Linked DNA regions of Homo sapiens: region 2 is linked to region 1. Evidence: promoter capture Hi-C in 16 types of primary human blood cells and fetal thymus (Javierre and others, 2016). All regions are on one chromosome and are shown on one strand. The core of a region is centred on a gene start or on the middle of the fragment in contact, and the rest is flanking DNA. Distances in the headings are between cores, read along the strand shown.

Region 1 (3,852 bases), core at 752-3,251:
GATTGGGAGGTGGGAGAGCTGCTGTTTAAAATGTAAATTTCTCCAAGGAAAGACAGGACAACTAAATGCTGTCTTGGAACCTAAATTACAAAATGGAAATAGGTGAGAGTAAAGAAATTCGAATAAGGCCTGTAGGTGTTAATATCCTGGTTTTGTTGACTGTTTTGTAAAATAAGATGTTAACCCCTAGGAAATCCAGACGAACCGTACATGGGAATTTTTGCTTGTTTCACAACACTCTGAAACTCTGAAATTAATTCAAGATAAAAATTATTCAAAAGACATTTTATAGATGTAAATGCCCCAAAGCTGAGCCAGGTGCCTAACTGTAGGGAAAAGAAAGAGAAGTCAGACTGCTACTGTGTCTATGTAGAAAGGGAAGACATAAGAAATTCCATTTTGACCTGTACCTTGAACAATTGCTTTGCCCTGAGATGCTCTTAATCTGTAACTTTGCCCCAACCTCTTTGCTCCAACCTTGACCTCACAAAAACATGTGTTGTATGGAATCAAGGTTTAAGGGGTCTAGGGCTGTGCAGGACATGTCTTGTTAACAAAATGTTTACAAGCAGTATGCTTGGTAAAAGTCATCACCATTCTCTAGTCTCAATAAACAAGGGGCGCAATGCACCATGAAAAGCCACAGGGACCTCTGCCCTGGAAAGCCGGGTATTGTCCAAGGTTTCTCCCCATGTGATAGTCTGAAATACAGCCTCGTGGGAAGAGAAAGACCTTACCGTCCCCCAGCCCGACACCCGTCTGTGCTGAGGTGGATTAGTAAAAGAGGAAAGCCTCTTGCAGTTGAGATAGATGAAGGCCACTGTGTCCTGCCTGCCCCTGGGAACTGAATGTCTCCGTACAAAACCTGATTGTACATTTGTTCAATTCTGAGATAGGAGAAAAACTGCCCTATGGCAGGAGGCAAGACATGTTGGCAGCAATGCTGCCCTGTTATTCTTTATTCCACTGAAATGTTTGGGCAGAGAGAAACATAAATGTGGCCTACGTGCACATCCAGGCATAGTACCTCCACTTGAACTTATGACATAAATTCTTTTGCTCACATGTTTCTTTGCTGACCTCCTTATCACCCTGCTCTCCTACCGCATTCCTCTTGCTGAGATAATGAAAACAATAATCAATAAAAACTGAGGGAACTCAGAGACCGGTGCTGGTGCAAGTCCTTGGTATGCTGAGTGCCGGTCCCCTGGGCCCACTGTGGTTTCTCTATACTTTGTCTCTGTGTCTTATTTCTTTTCTCAGTCTCTCCTCCCACCTGACAAGATATCCCACAGGTGTGGAAGGGCAGGCCACCCCTTCACCCAACAGCTCAGAATGGCTTTTGTGGGATACGGAAGAACCCTCCCTTCTCTTCACCTCACTAGCAAAAGAGAAAGAAGGGCAAACAAAGACCCTCAGAAACCTCAGCAGCTTCCCAGGCAGACGCAGTTAAAAACGACCCGCCCCCAGCGCGCCCCGGCACAGAGCCACCCCGCCCCAGGATGTGACGTGGCATTCGCAGTCCCGCCGCCAGCCTCAGGCCGCCCGCCTCCTTCGTCCCGCCCACCCCGCCCGAGCCTGCCCTGGTCCCTCCCACCCCGCCCTGAATCCATCCCTCTTTAGCCCGACCCCGCCCTGGTCCCCACCCACCCCGCTCCGCCTCCCGCTCAGCCGGCCCGGCCTCCGGCCTCGCACCCCAACCCGCAGAAGGAGCGCCCCCTTGCGGCCCTCGGAATCCCATTGTTCCTGTCCTGGTCCCGCCAGCCCACCGTCGGCGCGCAGTGGTGAGGACGAACTCCTCGGATGCCGCCGTTGAGAAAACGCAACATCAACGCCAACCACTCCTGTACTCAAGCGAAGCCCTGCCTGCAGCGCGAGCACACTGAGGCCTACCTGCCCTACCCCAGACGGAGACTCGCGAGCCCGAACCGGACCATGAGCCGCGCCGAATCGGAGCGCTGCGCCTGCGTTGGCGTCGGGCGTCGCGGCCGCGCAACGTCCGGCACCAGAGGGCTCGCTGCACCTCGGCCGGCCTTCCATGCCACGCCCCCGGGCCAGGCCACGCCCCGGCCCGAGCGACCATCGAGACTCCAGGACCTCCGCGGCGCCTAGAGGGATCCCGAAAACGCCTGCGAGGCCAGAACGGCCGAAATAACCCACCCCAGCGGGCCAGCTCTTCCCGCCACTCTCCCTTACCCTCCCACCCCTGTCCTACTTTGGAAACCTTCCTCGCTCCTTCCTAATCAGGAGAGCATGGGGACTTTCTAGGGTAGTGGTTCTCAAATGTGCCCCCAATCTAACAGCAGCTTCACCTGGGAAATCGATGGAAATGCAAATCTTGGGACCCCACTACAGGCCTTCTGAGTAAGAAACTCTGAGGGTGTGCCCAATAATCGGCCTTACCAACCCTGAAGGTAATTGTGGTACAAACTAGGGCTTGAGAACCACTGCTGTATGGCAGGGTTTCTCAACCTCCACTCTTGACATTTTGGGCCTGGATAATTCTTTGTTGAGAGGGAAGGAGGCTGTCCTGTGCATTATAGGAGGCAGGGTCACGGATAAAATACAGTTAAATTTGAGTTTCAGGTAACAGTGTTGTTCATCTAAGATTCACATTTAACTGGAAGTCCCTGTATTTCATCTGGCTACCTTGCCTACCTATATTTTTACTTGGTAAAAATAGAACCTTAATTGTAGGATATTGAGCATCCCTAGCAACTAAATGCCAGTAGCACACCACACTCTCTCCACTCTAGTTATGACAAATAAAAGTATCTCCCCCTACTTCTTGAGAATCACGGCTCTATAAGGACTTTGTCCAGCTGAAACCCAGTAGCCCATTAGGTATATAGGACAGTGTACTCCGCAGAAAACTGCCTTGCCCTGAAAGGCTTTGAACACAGAAATCCCTGGGACCAAACCGTGTTAACATTCAAAAAGAGGGCCACTTAGTGAAGAGTTTGTATTTGCTTCTCCACACTGACACTTCACAAAGGTTTTTTGGTCACTGTAAAGTGTGTTCCAAAACCCCTGGATCAGAAGAAAAAAATCATGCTCATTTGTGAGATTCTGAAGTGAAGGGCACGTATTAGTTTGTCATTCATTCCACATATGAGCAAATTGAGAAAACAGGCAATAAGCCATGGGAAAATGGGAGTGCTACTCTAGGTAAGGTAGGGTGGTGTTTCTAACTTGCTTTGTTCCCCAGATCCTGTGTCTCATTCATTCATTCAAGTGTTAAATGAGTGTCTTCTCTGTGACAATCACTCCTCTGAGCAGTGATGTTAGAACAGTGAAAAAGAAAAGGCACAAGAGAAAAACCCTCTTGTCATTTCAGTGGGAGAACCAGACAGTAAACAAAATATATGGCATGTCAAAGTGGAAAGTGCTAGGAAGAAAATAAAGGAAGCAAAGGGGACCAATAAGACTGTTGTGAATTCAGTTTTAAATAATTTGGTCAGGGAAGGTTGGTAAGTGAGAAGGTTGTATTTGAGGGAAAAGCCAAAGAATATGAAGAGCAAATTCCCCATGCAGAATTCAAGGGGGAAAATATTTGAAGCAGAGAGAATGGCATGTGCAAATGCTCTGAGGCGAAGCAAGCCTAGCACATTTGAGAATGGCTGGAGACAAAAGAAAGTCAAAGAAATGAGGTCAAAGAGGGGGTGAGTTCAACAAGGAGTAATAAGGTGCTTGCTGGCTGTTTCTTCCATACCTTTATGATCCAGAGAGAATTCTCACTGCAATTTGGATACTTGCATATGTAATTTAAAGTTAATAAAAAGATCGGGACCAAGTGTAAGTGTTTATGGAGCTGCAAAGAGTCCATCTAGACATTTTCAGTGCATTGCTTTG
Region 2 (3,852 bases), core at 647-3,146, 1.6 Mb after region 1:
TCATAGGGCAGGATTTAATCCGGGTGCCTGAGTCCAGAACCTTGACTCTGAAGCCCTGTTTTGAGCTAAATGCAGCAGCAGCATAAACAGCCCGTTTTGTGCCTCAAAAGGTGAACAGTGGGAGGCACAGCTGGGCAGGGACGTGTCAGGTCAGGGGAAGAAACTGAATTGGGTAGTGGGGATTAATTGGATGCTGTCTGCCAGCAATTTCTGCCTCCTGCATTTTATCTGCTTTAGGGTTGCAAGGGGCAGAGCTATGAACACGGATGCCCACTCAACAGCCAGTTCCTGGGCCAATCAAAGGGTTGGGAGCTGTAGCACCAGAGCTCTGGAACCCCACAGACTAGGATGTTTGCTAGAGCACCTAAGCCCTACCAGCCTTTGATGACCCCTCGGTTCCTCCCAATTCCTCTCCTCCATGTCACGGTTCCTGGCTGGTGTTCCTGAGAGTGGGCTGTACATGAGTTCTGTAAATGCCAGTCCAGTTACGTCAAAGGGGGTGGCTCTCACTTGTACCTGTAGGCTCCAGCTAAGATCTGCGTGGCCCTGCCCGGCATCTGGCTGTCATCCGGGAAACAATCACTGTTCACAAACAAGGGCTTCACTCCTTCGCTCGCTCCATCTCCTGCTAAAGTCAGAATGTGAACACTGACAAACAGCGGCTCCCAGTAACTCTGCTAGTCAGAAGTGATTATTCCAGCAGTTCAGAGGAGGAAGTGGCGGTGCCCAGGGCCACGGGATTAGAAGAGCAACGGAGCTAAAGGATCCCGTGCCTCAGTCCAACCACCTTGTTCCCACTTACTCAGCCGGGCCACTTTCTTTGGAGAAACTGATTTCCTTCTGCTTGCCCTTGAAAGGGGATCCGAAGGAAATCGGAGCTACCGGCAGTAGCTACCCTCCGGAAGACGGAGAATCTTCTCCACCTTCTCCTCTGCGTAGGAGAATCCAATTTCGGTGCAGAGCAGATGGCGAAGGGGCCATGGGAATCAGACCTGCTCAGGGACCGGGTTCGCACTTTCTCTCAAGCTCTGGAGCCTGAAAAATGAGCATTCCCCGGGGACGACCCATGTAAGAATTTGGGCTATATTCAGCATAGTGCAGCGGCCAGCAGCCCTGTCTCGGGGTGGGGTCCGGAGGCCCCCATTTCTGCTTGCCCCTCACTGCCACATAACCTTGGGTCAGAGTCCCTCATCCTCTCCCTCCGCCACTGTGCACAGCTGCAACCGTGTTCACTTCAGCGAGCAACGAGCCCCGTGACCCCCACTCAGGGTCAGGACTCACCGCAGCCCCTCTGCGCAAGCCCCGAGGCTCTGCGTGGCCTCCGGATGCGCGGCCTTTCCTAACCCGGGGACTCCGCACGTGGGCGCCAGGCCCGGAAGGCGCGGATGTGAGCGCTACCTTCGGCGTCCCGCAGCGGCAGGAGGGGCTGGGCGGCCCGGGCTTCGGCTGGCGGCGGGGGGGGGGTCGCAGGGGAGTCTGAAATGAGGCGGCCGACGGCGCGCGGGGCCTCCTCTCTCCGCTCCATCCCGCACCCCCAATTCCAGCTTCCATCCCCAGCCGCGACTCCCGGTCGGCCGTTCCGGGCGTCCACTGGCCGCGTGTCCTGGGGGCGCCAGAGAAGGAGAACAGCGGAGAAAAGAGCCCCGGGCCGACCTTCCGGACCGGCGGGCCCGCGGGGAAGCCCGGGCGCGGCGACGTGGCTGACCCACAAAGCCCCCGGCCCGGCGGCCAGGCCCAGGCGCGCGCGGAGCGGGGCGGGCCGGGGGTGTCGGATGTCACCCCCAGCGCACACCTCGGCCGGGGGGCGGGGGAGCGAACCACTGAGATGCGGAGACCTCCCCAGTCCTAGAGCGGAGCAGGAAGTGTCCCAGGGGAGGGAGCCGGAGGGCTCCGGCCTTTCCTTTCCTCGGCGTCCGGCGGGCTCCCGCGGCGGCCAGGCCTGCGCCGCCCGCCAACAGGGACGCGCCGCGGCGGTGAGTGCACCCCGGCTCCCGCGGCCGGCCCCGCCCCGCCCTCCTCGGCCCGCGCCCGGCCTCCGCGGCGCCGCCTCCCAGCCCAGAGCCCAGCGCTCAGGAAGGTGCGGGCGGGGGAGAAAGCAACACCATTGTTTTTCAGGCGCCTCCATTTGCCCCCGAGCCGAGCCGTGGCTTTCCGGATGATCGGGAGACGCGGTCTGGACGGGCCGGGAAAGGAGCCGGGCGCCTGCGGAGACCCCGCCTCAGCGAGTACGCCCGGCCGGGCGGGCTGGGAGGATGAGGACGGCTGCCCTGGACTTCCGCCGCCACAGGAGGGTTTTCGGCCGGACGCCGGGAGGGAGCTCCAGGCTGTGAGGTGAGGAGCCCGGAGCCGGCGAGACGGGAGACGCGCGTGTGAGGGAGACCGAGGGCGCGGAGGGCGGGCTCCCCCTTCCCTGGCCCACAGCGACCTTCTCCTTCCCTTTCTGCCGATCCAGCTCGGTCCCTCCTCCGCGAAAGGCTGGGAGCTCGCTCCGCCCCTGCGGGGCCCTCCTCCGCCTCACTCACGTTAGTTCATTCATCAGGCATCTCCTCCGAGCCTCCGACGCGCCAGGTGCCGCCGTGACAAAGACGGACGCGGCCGTCTGGTTGGAGACGATCCGAGTGGCAGCCCGGGTGGGCGCCGGTGCTCGGGGGGGCGGGCCTGAGTAGTCCTGGGCGCTGCAGGTGTGTGATGGGCGCCGCAGGGGGCCGCCGAGCAGGGCGGGCGGGGCCCACCCCGGGCTCCAGATGCCGGAGCCGCCCTGGAAGCGATCCGGTGGTGGGGAGCGCTGTAATGCGTCCAGCCCGACGCCGCCACGGCCCCCATATGGGTTTCTGTGTATGTTGTTACTTTGGAAAGCAAAGAGATTCAGAGCAGTGGGTGTTTCTGGAACCACTCAGTTGTTCCGTAGCTTTTCTGGCATCACTTGTCTTTCTGTGAAATGGGAGTGAGGCCCGAGTCCCCCTTCCCACCTTGTGAGCTGTTGGAGGTTAAGACGCGGCCACGCTGGACAACCTCGTGCAGATGGGGGAGTGGCAGGCACTGCCGGTCCTAAGGATCACAGAGGCCTGATGGCAGAGAAGGGGACTGTGAGTGTCCCCATGTGCCCTTTCACGGGCCCAGCGTTCTAAAGTGGGAATCATAAACACCAGGTATACTGGTTGCTGGTCTCTTGCCACCCTAGTTGTGGCAAAAGTGTCGGCTAGTTGTCTGCACACCAGCGGGGAGGTGTAGGGACCCCTGAGTCCCACCTTGGGGGTGTGGCAGCTGCAGTGTCCAGGGGTTCTTTGAGGGCTGAGCTGTGCAGTGACGGACCCACTTTTCTGTCCTGGCCGAGGAAGGGCTTTGGCGAGTGTGCAGTTGCCTTCAATGTGGTTTGAAGAGGGCAAGGATAGAGAATAGGGTGGAGGCGAGGTTGAAGGTCAGGGCAGAATTGGCAGAAGGCTCATAGGAAACCACTGATACTTCTAGATGCAGTGTTATTTGTCCCTGGTAGACTGCATGTAGCTGTCTCATGTGATGTTTTCCCTTGCCTCCCATTGCAGACTCTGCTGGGCAAAGCTGATTCTGGCTGGGTTGTCCATCCAGCACGCAGCACCATCAGCCCTCTGCCACCAGAAGGGTGGATTTTCCATTCCTGGATGTGCTTGAAGGCTCATCCGATGCATGTCTTTGTCATTCCAGCTCCATTTGTAAAGGTCTTAATAACAAGAACAGTGACTTCGGCTCCGGAGCTTCAAGATAGTGGCCTGCTTGGCCTGCCCATCTCGGATCTCTCCAGGAGGACCCAGCCACCCAAGGTACCAGAGCGTCTTGATTACATCTGCATGTGGCGCTGTTGGTTTCCTGGGATGC

Evidence for each region. Contacts are between HindIII fragments. The CHiCAGO score rates a contact against its expected background, and 5 or more counts as called.
Region 2: a contact is called between the fragment with the promoter of ZNF496 here and the fragment with the promoter of PGBD2 in region 1, in 1 of 17 cell types (fetal thymus). The highest score is 7.3, in fetal thymus.

What each region holds. Positions count from the first base shown.
Region 1 is chr1:248,904,384-248,908,235 of GRCh38, reverse strand. It overlaps PGBD2 (piggyBac transposable element derived 2), which reads right to left and starts at 2,001. Exons shown (of 3, transcript NM_170725.3): 1 at 1,894-2,001. RefSeq lists silencers at 1,556-1,645, 2,056-2,115 and enhancers at 1,736-1,925, 1,450-2,371. The HindIII fragment of the contact is 4,441 bases long and covers 1-3,852 here.
Region 2 is chr1:247,329,911-247,333,762 of GRCh38, reverse strand. ZNF496 (zinc finger protein 496) reads left to right here and starts at 1,896. Exons shown (of 10, transcript NM_032752.3): 1 at 1,896-1,973; 2 at 2,116-2,331; 3 at 3,682-3,797. ZNF496-DT (ZNF496 divergent transcript) reads right to left here and starts at 1,709. Exons shown (of 3, transcript NR_168399.1): 1 at 517-1,709. RefSeq lists silencers at 1-216, 1,329-1,808, 1,939-2,048, 2,619-2,858 and an enhancer at 1,722-2,016. The HindIII fragment of the contact is 9,597 bases long and covers 1-3,852 here.